Linked DNA regions of Homo sapiens: all the other regions are linked to region 5. Evidence: promoter capture Hi-C in 16 types of primary human blood cells and fetal thymus (Javierre and others, 2016). All regions are on one chromosome and are shown on one strand. Each heading gives the region's core, a stretch centred on a gene start or on the middle of the fragment in contact. The rest is flanking DNA. Distances are from core to core; before and after follow the strand shown.

Region 1 (2,700 bases), core at 165-2,664, 3.0 Mb after region 5:
AGCTGTGTGACCTAGATAAGTCAGTTAACCTCATTGATACTCAGTTTCCTTCTCTGTAGAGATAGTAATACTTCACCAAGCTGTTGTAAGGATTAAAACATGATGATAGTTTCGTGTTTAGCACAGAGTCTGGCACATGGTATACATTCAATAAATGGTAGTGCTGCTTCTGCCATTCAGTTGGCAGCAGTGATCACAAATCATGGAATGGATACATGGTTATATCACAAATATGGAGTGGCTTTAGAGAGAAGGCTTATTGCCTTGCCCATGTTTTTTTGTCAGTATTTTTATAAGATTGGTTAATCTGTGAACGTTTGTATTTTTCTTCCTGAATTTATCTAATTCAGAACATTTTTGATAGTCTGATTTCTAATACACACACACACACACACACACACACACACACACGTATTTTTAAATCCAGTGACCATAGGAAGGATTAGCCAGAGTAGGCTGGGGATAGACAAGCAAAGGATGGGAAAGAATCTTTTGGCTATGGCATTTCTGTAGTAATTCATCACAATTTGTTTTGATTAAAGAAGAATTAATGAGTATTAGTATTTTTCTGGGTAATCTCTACAAAGAAACCTTTCCATAAATAAGTTCTGTTTCACAAAATTTAACATTTAACATTTGTGACTAGATCCTGATGATATATTTTTTTTAACCCTTAGGGTACGGCTTGTATGTATTTCAAACGTTTTTATCTTAATAACTCAGTAATGGAATATCACCCCAGGATAATAATGTGAGTATGTCTGTCTAATATATTGTTTTCATTTAAGAAGACCTTTATAATCTTTTGAGTATTTTTTGGGAGGAGAGAATTGTGAGAGAGAGAGAGAGAGAACTGACTTCCTAATACAGGGTAATTTAGACTTGAATTCTATTTTTTTTTTTTTATTCAGAACTTGAGATCTCTGTTTACCTGTACTTCAGTAATTCTGATGGTATGTGAACTTCAGCTTGTCCAGATTCAAATTTTGTTTTTCTCAAATTAGCTACTTCTCTAACATCTCTTCCTATTAGACACCTTTGTTCTTCCAGTTGTTCAGACTGAGAATCATTTATAGTGGCCCCTCCCACATCCAGTCAGTTTACGGATCCTATAGCTTCATACTCATTTCAGTTGAACAAAGGTCTGTTGTTGCTGCTCTCTGCTGAGCGCTGTGTCTATCATTAAAAATGAAATTAGTATGAAACTCATCAAAGAGTTTGCTCTCAATGACATTGTACCTGTTTTCTCTTTTTTGATTCCCATTTCCACCAGTCAAGATTAGGCCCTTGATCTCACTGCCAACTGTTTTTTACAGTAGCTTTCTTACTGTTTTCTCATACTGAACAGCATGAAGTGGCCAGGTGAATTTCACAAGTTTGTCCCTTAAATAATAGTCCCTTATTCAGATGCCCTTAGAGACTTCTGCCGATGGCCTTCCACAATGTTCCTTTAACCTACTTTTCTTCCCATACTTACATGGTACATATGTGGGTACTGCTTTATTTTTAACTCTTCCATCTACATTATACAAAGTACTCTTATTCCTCAGTTAATTTGTTTTTCCAGATATTTAGGTTGTACTGCATAACACTGTCATTGAGTCAGTGATGTTTGAATGCCATGGCAATATTGGTTTGACCTAATTTTATAGTTGTCTTACGTCTCCTAATGAAGTGTGAACAGGAAGTGTCTTTTAAAAAACAATTCTTGCAATGTCTAGCAGTCGCTTTTGAATATTAGGCAATTATAGAATATACTTTTAGAAATAAATTATTTAGATACTTCTCAAAGTATATGCATGTTCTTCCACCCCACCCACCCCCTGCCTCCTGCCTCCTTATTTTTTCCTCTAGGCTCACTTGTGCATTTTTGGCCTGCAAAGTAGATGAATTCAATGTATCTAGTCCTCAGTTTGTTGGAAACCTCCGGGAGAGTCCTCTTGGACAGGAGAAGGCACTTGAACAGATACTGGAATATGAACTACTTCTTATACAGCAACTTAATTTCCACCTTATTGTCCACAATCCTTACAGACCATTTGAGGGCTTCCTCATCGACTTAAAGGTAAACTTGATGTAAAATAAACTAATACTACATTCTCCTTTCCTATTCTTTAACAAAAGAATCCAAAATTTTAAAACTCATAATCATCCTCGTTGTTATAGCATGGATACAACCTGTGGGTCTGGCCTGGTCATCTAGGGCAGTTGTTTTCAAACTTCAGTGGGCATCATCAGTCATCTGGAGAAATTGTTAACTGAGATTGTTGGGTGGGACTTACAGAGTTTCTGATTTAAGTGATCTGCAATCTCATTTAAGTGATCTTCATTACATCCAGGGATGTAATGAAGACCATTGAGAGTTTAGAACGGTGCTTACTATAAAGGCTTAAGATAACTCTTCTAACTTTGAATTATATTGTCATGGATCTGGGCCTGATTTAAACCATAAAAAATTCTTAAACTAGAAGATTGCTAAGTGACTTATATTTTTAGAGGTTTGTGAACTTAAGTCACTATGTAGGCATCAATAATATACGTAAACAAACATTGACAAAAGCAACTTTTTTAAGTTGTTTTGTTTGGCTCTAAAAGAGAAGTTGGATAGTCTGAGTCGAATCAAATCAGGAATTGGTTCATTCATGTTAGATCAGTGGCTCAATTTGGGTACCTTCTATGTGCCAAACTTTGTGCTTGAGG
Region 2 (2,700 bases), core at 12-2,511, 3.0 Mb after region 5:
TAACAATAACAATAATAAAACAACCAAAACAATTGTAATTCTGTATAAATCTTTGTTTGAATTTATGTATGAAACACATCGAGTGGCCATTAATTAGCCAAAAAATCAAATTTACATTAAAGAAACTATTTCTCCCAAACAGATACTACCTTGGGGAAATTAACTGTATAATTAAGCTGTTATACTTGAGGCAAGCTTAGGTGGAATTTAACTTGATACACTTTGTGAGAGGGGGAGAGTGCTGATTGTAAAACCAACTGATAATGTGATGACCGATCCCATGACAAGCATATTAATCTATACTTTAGACCATGATACAGGTAGAAATGTATAAGGGGATTTGGGTTATTTTTAAGCTTCTCAAATATAACATTAGATTTTAAAAATCATTTTAGCCTAATATTCAAATCAAATTGCAGCCATATTTTTAAAATGTTTATCTAGTGCTTTGGGGAAAAGGAGAGAACTAAGGTTTATTAAAAACAAATCTAAATATTCACTTTGGTTTTTACATATTTCTGGAAAGCTGTGTACTATTGCTTTATTCAATTATGTCTTTAGTTTGTTGGCTATTTCAATGAAGCTGAACTTTATTAATATCTAGAGACTGTCTTTATATTACAGCAAATTAAAACCAAATCAGTTACCATAGCTTTTTGAAATAGAAGAGAATAACCAGAGACCCCCACAGCCCAATAAATCAACAAAAACTGGAAATACCATTTATGGAAATACAGAAATATTATGTATAAATACATTAAAAAATGTTCTATGTTAGGCTTGCAAAACATGCTGAAATGTCATTATGGTATGTGACATTTTATTCAGAAAGAGGGACCATGGTAAAATACTTAGAAAATAGGATACTGAAGTTTAAATTTCTAACTCAATTTCTAACATTTAAAAAAATCATGTAAGTTACCAAAATGTTTTGAGCACTACCTTTCTCATCTAAAAATTAGGGATACATAGCCGTAAAATTTTATGTGCATTACATGTGAAATGAGCATTAAATGAGATATTTGATAAAGATGTGAAATATGACGTTCAGTTGTAAGCTCATTCAGGTTTATTCTGTGAGTCTCACGCTAGGATCTAGTTTTAAGAGCATCTTCCTCATATCTAGGGTTGGCAAATTATATTTCCAACAAAGCCACTTTCACTTCTTAACCACCTTTAAGTTCCTTCGTTAGAATATAAGCAGAAATTTAGCTGTATTTGTATAAAATACAACCATATACTCCAGAAATATTAGGGTTCAAAGAAAGCAAAAAAATTTTTTAAGAGACAGTGTCTCAGTTTGTTGCCTAGGCTGGCTTACAGTGTCTCGATCTTACTCACTGTAACTCAAACTCCTGTGCTAATGCAATCTTCCTGCCTCATTCTACCCAGTGGCTGGGACTACAGGCATAAGCCAGAACACCTAGCTAATTTTTTACTTTTGTTATAGAGGTGGGTTCTCCCTTTGTTGCAAAATATTTTTTAAAGAGTGTTTTTTAAAAAATATTATTTCTTCACACAATTACTTAATAGACGCTATAAGAAGGACACTGCACATGGATTAATAGCTAATCTAAAGTAGACATTATATCTCGACTTGGCTTAGAGAATAGATTCCTAAAATATCTTTCCTTGTGTTGACTGACTTTTATTTTCAGACATGGAGTTCAACCAGTGAAGAATAATGCTTGTTAGCAAAACTAACTGGTTAACTGGCTTACCTTTGGATTATACTGAGATGACCTATAACCTTTATGCAGAGAGGATTTTAAATGAGCATTCTCAGTTGGCCTCAACATCATAGAGTATTTAAAGGTCAATTTAAAATGGAGTTTTCATTCCTAATAACCCTTCACTGTGTTTGTTTTTGCATTTCTTTCAGAAAACTTTTTACATATGAAATCTCATTCCTTAAAATAAGAGATGATTAGATTTCAGGCGTTCTGTCACTTTATCTTGAATGCGATCATTTTCTATTCCAGTTAATAAGAAAACATGGGCTAACATAAAAGTATACTGTAGTTTGAGAAACAGTAATCTTACCTCTGCTTGTTCTGGAGTTTCTCCTGCAAAGTAAAAGATGTAATGTTCTTCACTAAAGTGCTGAACTACTATCTGAAAACAGTTTGGCCTTTAAAATAAAAACAAAAATTATTAGGAAGCTTAATAAAAAGTAGCAAAATATTTATACCAGCTTCCAAAACACTCACAATAAATAATTAACATAAAATTATAATTCTTAAAGAAATAATACTCCATTGTACCAGATCATTACTAAAAAAAAGTCAGCTATATATATTTTAGAAAACTTTATGTCAGCACTATTAAAATGTTATCAGTATTTCAAAGTGTAAACTAAAGAAATTTCAATTAATTGTAAAATACATTAGAAATAAAGTTACAAACAGATTGAAGCTGAACTGCTAGAACTGCACACAGCTAATTTGAAAAGCTTTATATGCACTGGAAAAAGACTAGAAATGTTCTTAGACCAAAAATGTTCTAAGTAATTATCTCTAAGGAGATTGTAGGTGATTCTGTATTTTCAAATTTTTCTAAACTGATCATTTTTCTTCACCTGTTAAAATGGAAACATCATCTCTTCATACATATGCTTGTTCTAGAGTTTAAGTGAACAGTTGTGTACAACAAATGTTCTTGTCTTCCTTTAGTATTATTTCAAATCATTTGATATGTAAG
Region 3 (2,700 bases), core at 185-2,684, 3.7 Mb before region 5:
CATTTTAAAAAAATTCCAGGCATAATGAAAAGGGTGTTCTTGGGTCTAACTCAGTTTTGTGTCCCCAGCATCTAGATGGAAAGTACAAGTGATAGGGGGTTGATTTCAAGTAATAATCATTTTGTTGGAGGGGTCATTAGAAATTATTTGGTTATATGATCCTACTTTTTGGGCTTTAAATATAAACTGAATCTAGAAGGCAGAACTTGTTGTAATTACTATCCACACTTCACACATACTGTCTTAGTCCATTTTCTGCTGCTGTAAGAATACCACACACTGGGTAATTTATAAACAAAGAGATTCATTTGGCTTACAGTTCTGGAGGCTGGGGAAGTCCAAGATCCAGAGGCTGCATCTTGTGAAGGTCATCTTGTGGCAGAAAGCATCACAGGGGGAGAGAGGGTGAGACAGAGTAGTGAGAGTGCACAAGACAGAGAGAAAATGGGGACCAAATTTATCCTTTTATCAGGAGCTCACTCCCATGATAACTAACCCACTCCCACAATAATGGCATTCATCCTTTTATGAGGGCACAGTCCCTATCACCTAAATCACCTCTTTAAAGCTTCACTTCTTAATATTATTACAATGGCAATTATGTTTCCAATGCATGAATTTTTAGAGAACACATTCAAACCACAGCACATTCCTGCTTGGGCTTGAGCAAGGGCAGGAATGTTACTTGATTCTCCAAATTTAAGTCAGAATCCAGACCTCATTCTAATACAGTTGGTTAGTTTGGACAGAGCTTTGCCCTTAGCATCTAATTAAGAATATTTTCCTTAATGGATTTTCTTGAGCTGCCAAAATGTTGGCACTGAGTCCTAGTCATGATAAGTAGGTTTAAATTTTATTTTTAACTTAAATGAACAACATGTAGCCTTGTTAGTATTTTTGGAGGTGTCTGTCTGCTGTATGTCACTGAAATCATTTAATGTGAAGGGTGGGAGTAGATTGATAAAAAGATAGATGCCCAAGGAAGTGGTCTGGAATAGGAGGAGGATACGCAAAATATGGTATAGGGACATTTCTTTGATCATCCTAGTGATCAAAGATGGACCAGCTGTTAGCCAGGAGGGAACAAATCTCCTTTCCTTTTTCCTTATCTTAGTAGGATTTTGAAGTGCAAGAGAAGAGAGGTGGGGAGAGAAACTGAAGTTTCTGGCTTCCCTAGAGATGTATAAATTAAAATTATAAACTAACTTGTACAGTTTAGATGACTATGGTTAAAATGAGGGGACATTTTTGTACTATATTGTGTAGTCATCATTGTAATGGTTTCTGCTAAGCTACACATGGGCTGTTGTAATTCTAACAAAACATCTAAGCCCACATACAATTTTTGTTGCTTTCCCTCCTTTCTCCTCACAGATTTGCAGAAGATATTTTTGTGGTCAGCTGAGGCAGGAGTTTACCATTTAGGGTAGAGTAAGGAGAGAAAAGGACTCACTCTGTTTCAGCACATAACCTCTTCATTCTTGATTTTGACATCTTAGGCAGGATTGGACTTGAAAGGATATTTACTCTTTGGCTGTTGTCATACAGCTATTAGTTTCTTTTGCTGAAAAACAAATCACTCCAAAATTTACTGGCTTAAAGTAACAAGAATCATTTTCATTATCTCTAATTGTTTCTGTGGGTCAGGAATTCAGAACTGGGCACAGTGGGGATGGCTCGTCTCTGCTTTATGAAATTTTGGACCCCAGCTGACTCAATGACAGGAACAATCTGAAGGCTCATTCATTCCCATGTAAGTCCAGCTGGAATTGCAGGCTGAAGCACCCATATGTTTGTTCAATAGTTTACTACTGAACAAAGTACATTCCCCTAACCCTTGAGTGGGCCTCTATCCTGGAAATATTGAAAGGTCATGTCACTCATCTTTTGACCAATCTCCATATTTTATGTAAACATTGGTATATTCTCTTAATGGAATGTTACTTTTTTATTCAATTTTCACTAGTTTTCTCACTTACGTTCTATTTCTATTTCAGGATCCAACATTAAAGTTGGTCTCTTTAGGCTCCTCTTGGCTCAGACAGTTTCTCAGACTTTCCTTGTTTTTCATGACTTTAACTGTTTGGAGTAGTACTGGTCAGGTATTTTGTCTGATGTTTTTCTCATGGTTAAACTGGGATTATACATTTTTGGGAGCCTTATCTTTTTAATATAATCTGTCACTGTTGCAAAAGTCCACCAAAATAAAAATGTTTCCCTCCTCTGTTCAACAATCCTTCAGCTTCCCCAATTGTCTGCAGCAGAAAATCAAATTACTCAGCATGACATAGAAAGCTTTTCAGAATCTGGCTGTTGCCTTCCTCTTCAGTATAAAGTGTCACTCTACAAACCATTTGAGTTCTTTCCGGAAATGAAGCCCTAACAGTCTTGCAATGCCCGAGATTCATTCAGGTACTCAGTTCTGGCTAACTCCAGTGGATTCTCTCACCTTTTACTGCTCCTTATCTCCCGCCACTTACTTACACCACTTTCTTCTTGTCCTATACACTTTTCTAGATTTCCCCAATCTATTATTTACCACTGTGATCATTCAGTCATTCAATAAGTATTTATTGTCTACTTTGTGGACAGGCACTGTTGTATGGTTGAGGATACATTAAAAAGACAAGATTATGTCACTACCATCAGTGAGTTTACATTTTAGGGGGCAGGGTACATTTGCAAAGTACAAACAGTGTG
Region 4 (2,700 bases), core at 114-2,613, 4.2 Mb before region 5:
GATTATTAATAAGGTAACATTTTAATGTATTTTGGTTTCATGTATAAATTATTAAATTATTTGGATTTACTGGAGTTAGTGTGTAAAGCAGTTTTCATCTTAAACCATATGGTCTTTATAATAAAATAAATATGATGGAAATGACCCACTTTGTATATTTAACAGCATTTTCTGTCAAAGCAAGAGCCCATAGTAAAATGAAAATAGGACTAACTGCATAATAGCAGAAATCAGGAAAGCCTTTTAAAGCAATTTATTTCCTTTGAAAATGATTAAATATGAAACTGAAGTTAAACATGCGGAGGAAAGGGAAGTAGGAAACAAAGGTGAAAAAACAGAATGTCCTGATTCAAACATTATCCATAAAATATGGATATGTTTAAAGACAAATCAGAATACAGGACATTCTAGTCACAAATTTATCAGAAAAACTGAGCTACTAGCTAAACTTTAACAGAATCAGGAATCCCAGTGACGGCCCAAAATAACTAGCACAGTTTTGTAACAGTTTTCTAGAATAAAATTATCTACTTGAAACAACAGTTTATAATACATTTAGCAATGCTTTTTTACAGCACATGATATGACAAGTGAATGACCTGTATTACAGGATCTAATTCATGCAGTTACACAGGAAAACTATATATGTAGGAATAGATATAAACATGTATAGATATACTGATTGATTTATTTATAAAATTCATGGTTTGATGGTTCTTTCTGACCCTGCAGGATTAAGAATACAATAAACCTGATATGTTAATGAGGCCAAAAAGAGCACTATAATTGGTTTAACATATATCAATAACCCAGACAATTAAAAATCCTTTAAAGTACAGTCAAGTTTAGTGTAAGTGATATGTCTGAGGTAGGGAGGATCAAGAGCTAACTTCTAGAAGTCTTGCAGCACAAGAAGGAAAGTAAATATACCATAATATAATTGTACCAGTGGTTATTTTTAGAAAAATTATAGATCTTTCTAGAACTAATAGGGGGTGTTCCTTGGAGCATTCATACAGAAGATACTATCTTAACACCAAAAAAAAGGAGGGAAAAAAAAAGCAAAAAAGAGAGCATGACTTCTGACAGTTAAGTTTTATTTTTACTGTCAAAAAAATTAAAATTATATGACATTCTTGGTTATGAGAAAATGTCCTTTTGTAGTAATTATTAAAATCTTATCTATAATTAACAAAAATTAGTTACTTACCTTGAACAATAAAATACAACTAAGGAGACAATGACTATAAACAGAGTTGGCCTTTATGCATAGCAAGCAACTGTCTCTGTGGTATGGAGTTTCCCAAAATATCTCCCACATGGGCCTATTCTTGATGCCTGAAATTCCTTTGTAGTTGGTGCCAGTCCAAAATGCAAAGAAAACTTATAGAACTCTTCATCTTAATTAAGAACACTATTTATTATAAACTAGCTTTTTAGGTTCTTTGAATTCTTTATAATGTAACACATAGCTAGAACATGTTTGAAGAACATGTTGAAAATTGAGCTCAGAGACAAGGAAAGACAGGAATACAGATATGAATACAAAAGTCTGGTTTGAGAGGCAAGATGAAAGAGCAGGGTACAACCCTTGGGAAAAAGCGGAAGGTGCTACAAAAATGAGAGACAGGGATGCATAAATGGGGTTTTGTAAGGAAAATAAGGATAAACTTTTCCCTACTCTACATTATATAGGGCTGGTTTCTTTTATAACCAGCCCTACCCATAAAAGAGAAGTAATCTTAGAAATAAATTGTATGGTATCATTAGCTAAAATAAATATTTAAGACTTAATAAAAAAACTTTGATTTATATATTTATATTTAAGAACTAAAGTTTTCCCCCCAAAATAACCTTTACAGACTTGTCTTTCAATTTTAACATGCACTTATTATAGAAAATTTGAAAAATATTACAAAGTATATAGAAAGATTAAAATCATCTCTAATCCCTTCAGCCTGTAATACCATTGTTAACACTGGGGAGGGATGTTGACTTTTAGGTTTTATCTGAGTGTAAAAAATATATATAACAAAATTTGGATATTACATTGTTTCATATCTTCATTTTTATGTAATGTTATATTGTGATCATTTTTCCATGCCACTTAATACTCTTCATGGTTTTAAGGTCATGATGAAAACTAGTGGTTTCTCAGTGTTTGTTATTTTGGTGAATTCTTTTGATTTTAAACCTACTTTTACAGCAAACTAAGGAAAATTATTTGAAACTCCCCTCATCTGAAAAGCATATACCAAGCACTGAATGCAGTCAAGATTTCTGCTCTGAATTAAACAGTCTGAAAAATTTTCATTTCTCTTATTCAAAACATTTAACTGGGAAAGTAAACAAATAACTGTTAAAACTGAAAAGGGTCCAAGTGTTGGATCTCTGTTTGAACCAATATTGCAAAAGGTAGACACATGTCACAGTACTTATACTGTGTGTATAAAATACTGTTTGACGTTTAACTACAAGTGGCGTTTAGAAATTCTGGCCCCTTTAGGCCTAGGAGCCAAATTAGGCCCTTGGTTTAATATCATTCAGCTGGCCTTCAGACTTTTTTTTTTAAAGACACAGTGTCTATTTCCTGCCCCATCCTTCAAAGATAGGAGAGATGCACACGCACGTGTGTATGTGTGTGTGTGTGTGTGTGTGTATAAATATTAATTATTTGACAGAAGCATCCAGTGATGAGAC
Region 5 (2,700 bases), core at 160-2,659:
TTGGCCTATTTTTATTCTTTCTTATTTAAAATAATGTTCTCCTATAACTTGGTCTGTATCTTAAAATTTTAACATATAGTTTTTTTCAATATCATTATGTTCTAGTAACTACAATTTCTCTTTCCTTTTAGACTCAAAGGTGATTTATAAAGGTACTTTAAAATTTAAAATACGAACAAAATAAAAGTTCCACTTTTGTTTTTTAGGGGTGCTATCCCTTAGCTAATTTTTAGCTTATTCTATCATACTATCTTTCCTTGTGCAAATTTAGCCCATCCTTCTAGGTCTAACGTTTATGTCACCTCCTTTAAGAAGCATATCTTGTGTTCTCTCCCTTCTCTAAAATTTTATATACATCCCTTAAACATATAATGTTTATATATTCTCCGCCTTCAACTCCCATCCTCAGGCTATTTTATTCACGTTTATGAGATTTGCTGTTTAGCTCAGTATTTTGTGGATTTTCAAAAGATTCCACTCAATTTACCGAGCACCTACGCACCAGACATTTTATTAGGTACAAGGAAAAGCGTTAAATAGATATAATCACGGCCTCCAAGAAATTGAACCTAGTAAGAGACACGAATAAGCAGACATTCAAGTGAGCTTTAGGAGACTTGGTTTGGTAGTGAAGACAGTCTCATGTGTGTTAACAGCTTACAGCACTGAAAAATAAGAGACAGAAGGGAACAAATCCGTTTCAAACAGTTCAAAGGAGGAAAGAGAGGGAAAGGTGGTTTAGATACAGCTAAATCATAAATAGCCTGATAATCTAACCCTGTGATAATCCAAGTACAGCCACAGCACCTGCCTCAGAATCACTTGGAAGGCTTGTGAGGAGTAAAAACGCAGATTCATACCTACTGAAATTAGAATGGAGAAACGGACATTTAAGTCTGCATTTTAAACACATTCCCCAGGTACTGAGGCCATTCCAAGTTTTAGAACAGAGCACAGCCAATTTTCGCAGACCTTGTTCCTCAAGTACTCCCTCCTTCTAGCCGGAGGGTGGCCTGCAGCATGTCCCTTCCCTTCCCACCGCCGAAGCTGTCCATCCAGTTTCTGAATGGCGGCCCACAGACCGCACGGCTTTACGAGAGAGGAACACAGCGCCCACCCGCCAAACAGCCACACAGGGATCGGAGGCCGGACCCGCAAAGGATTCGGGGAAAAACGCATCGAGCCAATCCGAAGGGCGAGAGCGGCCCTAGATTGGGGGGGCGGGGGGGCGTTAGGAGGTGGGCGGGGCACAGAAAAAAAATTTTTTTTTCCTTGATTGACGTAAAACCTACCCAATGAAAATAGAACTGGTAAAGCTTCCGCCCCCTAATAGGCAGAACCATAGCGACATTTCAACCAATCCAGCTCAAAAGTGTCTATGTTGTGGGAGGTCCCTGAGGCCGCTGAGGTCGTTCGTGTCTGTTGAACGGCTGTGGGCGTCTTGCTGCCTTGGGTAGGGGGTTAAAATCGTTCTTGAGAGGAACGTCTCTGTGCGAAGAGATAATGAGTTTAGCTCTGAGGTCGGTAATAAGGAGGCGGCAGTGCTCTCCACACCCCGGAGCGGGGCCCAGGGAGGGTGTGTGTGGAAGGGAGGACGTTTGGGGCCGAGGCGAGGCAGGGGATGTAGTTTGGGACGCGGGAAAGGAGCCTAGGGCAGCCTGCCCGGATCACTCACCCTCTGGGCTCTGATGCCCTGCAGGGAACGAGACCAGTGCATTTCTGCTAAGGAGGTTATTTCTGTCAGCGCGTAGGGCTTTGGACTGCCAGAAGGTTGGGCTTAGTTGCGAGCGAGGTGGGAATGAAATATCGCGAGGCTTCTACTCTTGTTTCTCAGATCAGGTCGCGGACATCCCTTCATTCATCCGTGTGCCTGGTCAGGGCCCCACCTCGGCTGCTCCGCTGCTAATGCAATCACCCACCTATAAATTTTGGAAATAACAAAAACTCTTTCCTCTTCTCCCAGGGCCCTGCTTTACGGTGTAATTGGAGACCCATTTTAGTGACTTTAATTGGCAGTCTGTCTCTTGGATTTCCTAAATTTCTTGCATTTTTTTACCTTTCAGTTCTAACCTCTAACCCTCTGTTGCCCTCTCCCACTATGTAGACGTTGTACCGTAAAACTATCCATACACTTACGACACTCCGAAAATATTCCATGTTCTGCTAAGGGATAATCATGGTACCCTTGGATGGGGTCAGGGGTGGGTCGGTTCTGGACTTGGCCTCCAAAAGTCTCAGGAAGGAAAAGACTGACCCCAGGAATACCCAAGTTTGTGTCAAGTCAGGTCTCATGAAAGGAAGATCTTCCTCAGCTTTGTTATACTGCACCTACTAGTCACTTCCTAGCTTTTTTTTTTTTTTTTTGGAGCTTTCAGAGACCAAAACGACTTTCAAATGCAACTAGATAGGTGTTTTAAGTACAGTCAACTGGTTTGACATGTTAATGTGTTACCGGATTGTGTTTCAAAACTCGTTATTCCAGTGTTGCGGCTCCATTTGAAAATTTGGAGCACATTTAGATGGGCAGCTCTTAAGGAAAACATTTCTGGCTTTAAAATAATTTTTGCTTTTTTTCTTTAAGCGTTTCCAGAGTTTATGAGAAGTTAACCTCCGGTTTACATGTTAAATGAGACAAGACTCATCACATTTTTATATAGAATGAAGCACAAACATTGTATATTGGCATCTAATATTTGTCAT

What was found. Contacts are between HindIII fragments. The CHiCAGO score rates a contact against its expected background, and 5 or more counts as called.
Region 1: a contact is called between a fragment that was not itself captured here and the fragment with the promoter of CETN3 in region 5, in 7 of 17 cell types (non-activated CD4 T cells, naive B cells, naive CD8 T cells and 4 more). The highest score is 10.8, in non-activated CD4 T cells.
Region 2: a fragment that was not itself captured here is called in contact with the fragment with the promoter of CETN3 in region 5 in 2 of 17 cell types (total B cells and total CD4 T cells); the score reaches 7.3 in total B cells.
Region 3: a fragment that was not itself captured here is called in contact with the fragment with the promoter of CETN3 in region 5 in 1 of 17 cell types (non-activated CD4 T cells); the score reaches 8.9 in non-activated CD4 T cells.
Region 4: a contact is called between a fragment that was not itself captured here and the fragment with the promoter of CETN3 in region 5, in 1 of 17 cell types (total CD4 T cells). The highest score is 6.1, in total CD4 T cells.

The regions. Positions count from the first base shown.
Region 1 is chr5:87,407,341-87,410,040 of GRCh38, reverse strand. It overlaps CCNH (cyclin H), which reads left to right. Exons shown (of 9, transcript NM_001239.4): 3 at 678-751; 4 at 1,855-2,065. Among named protein-coding and RNA genes, the nearest start is that of CCNH, 4.2 kb to the left of the region's middle. The HindIII fragment of the contact is 6,127 bases long and covers 1-2,700 here.
Region 2 is chr5:87,369,244-87,371,943 of GRCh38, reverse strand. It overlaps RASA1 (RAS p21 protein activator 1), which reads right to left. Exons shown (of 25, transcript NM_002890.3): 12 at 2,044-2,131. It also overlaps a transcript of CCNH not described here. Among named protein-coding and RNA genes, the nearest start is that of CCNH, 42 kb to the left of the region's middle. The HindIII fragment of the contact is 1,806 bases long and covers 359-2,164 here.
Region 3 is chr5:94,112,419-94,115,118 of GRCh38, reverse strand. It overlaps LOC105379087 (a long non-coding RNA gene), which reads right to left. Exons shown (of 7, transcript XR_001742441.2): 3 at 1,454-1,564; 4 at 318-372. Among named protein-coding and RNA genes, the nearest start is that of ARB2A, 2.1 kb to the right of the region's middle. The HindIII fragment of the contact is 1,727 bases long and covers 571-2,297 here.
Region 4 is chr5:94,621,843-94,624,542 of GRCh38, reverse strand. All of the region lies in intron 1 of SLF1 (SMC5/6 complex localization factor 1), which reads right to left. Among named protein-coding and RNA genes, the nearest start is that of SLF1, 4.5 kb to the right of the region's middle. The HindIII fragment of the contact is 2,946 bases long and covers 1-2,700 here.
Region 5 is chr5:90,408,465-90,411,164 of GRCh38, reverse strand. It overlaps CETN3 (centrin 3), which reads left to right and starts at 1,409. Exons shown (of 5, transcript NM_004365.4): 1 at 1,409-1,520. The coding sequence starts at 1,504. It overlaps LOC731157 (a long non-coding RNA gene), which reads right to left and starts at 1,165. Exons shown (of 2, transcript NR_105024.1): 1 at 861-1,165; 2 at 496-665. RefSeq lists an enhancer at 1,440-1,639. The HindIII fragment of the contact is 6,726 bases long and covers 1,319-2,700 here.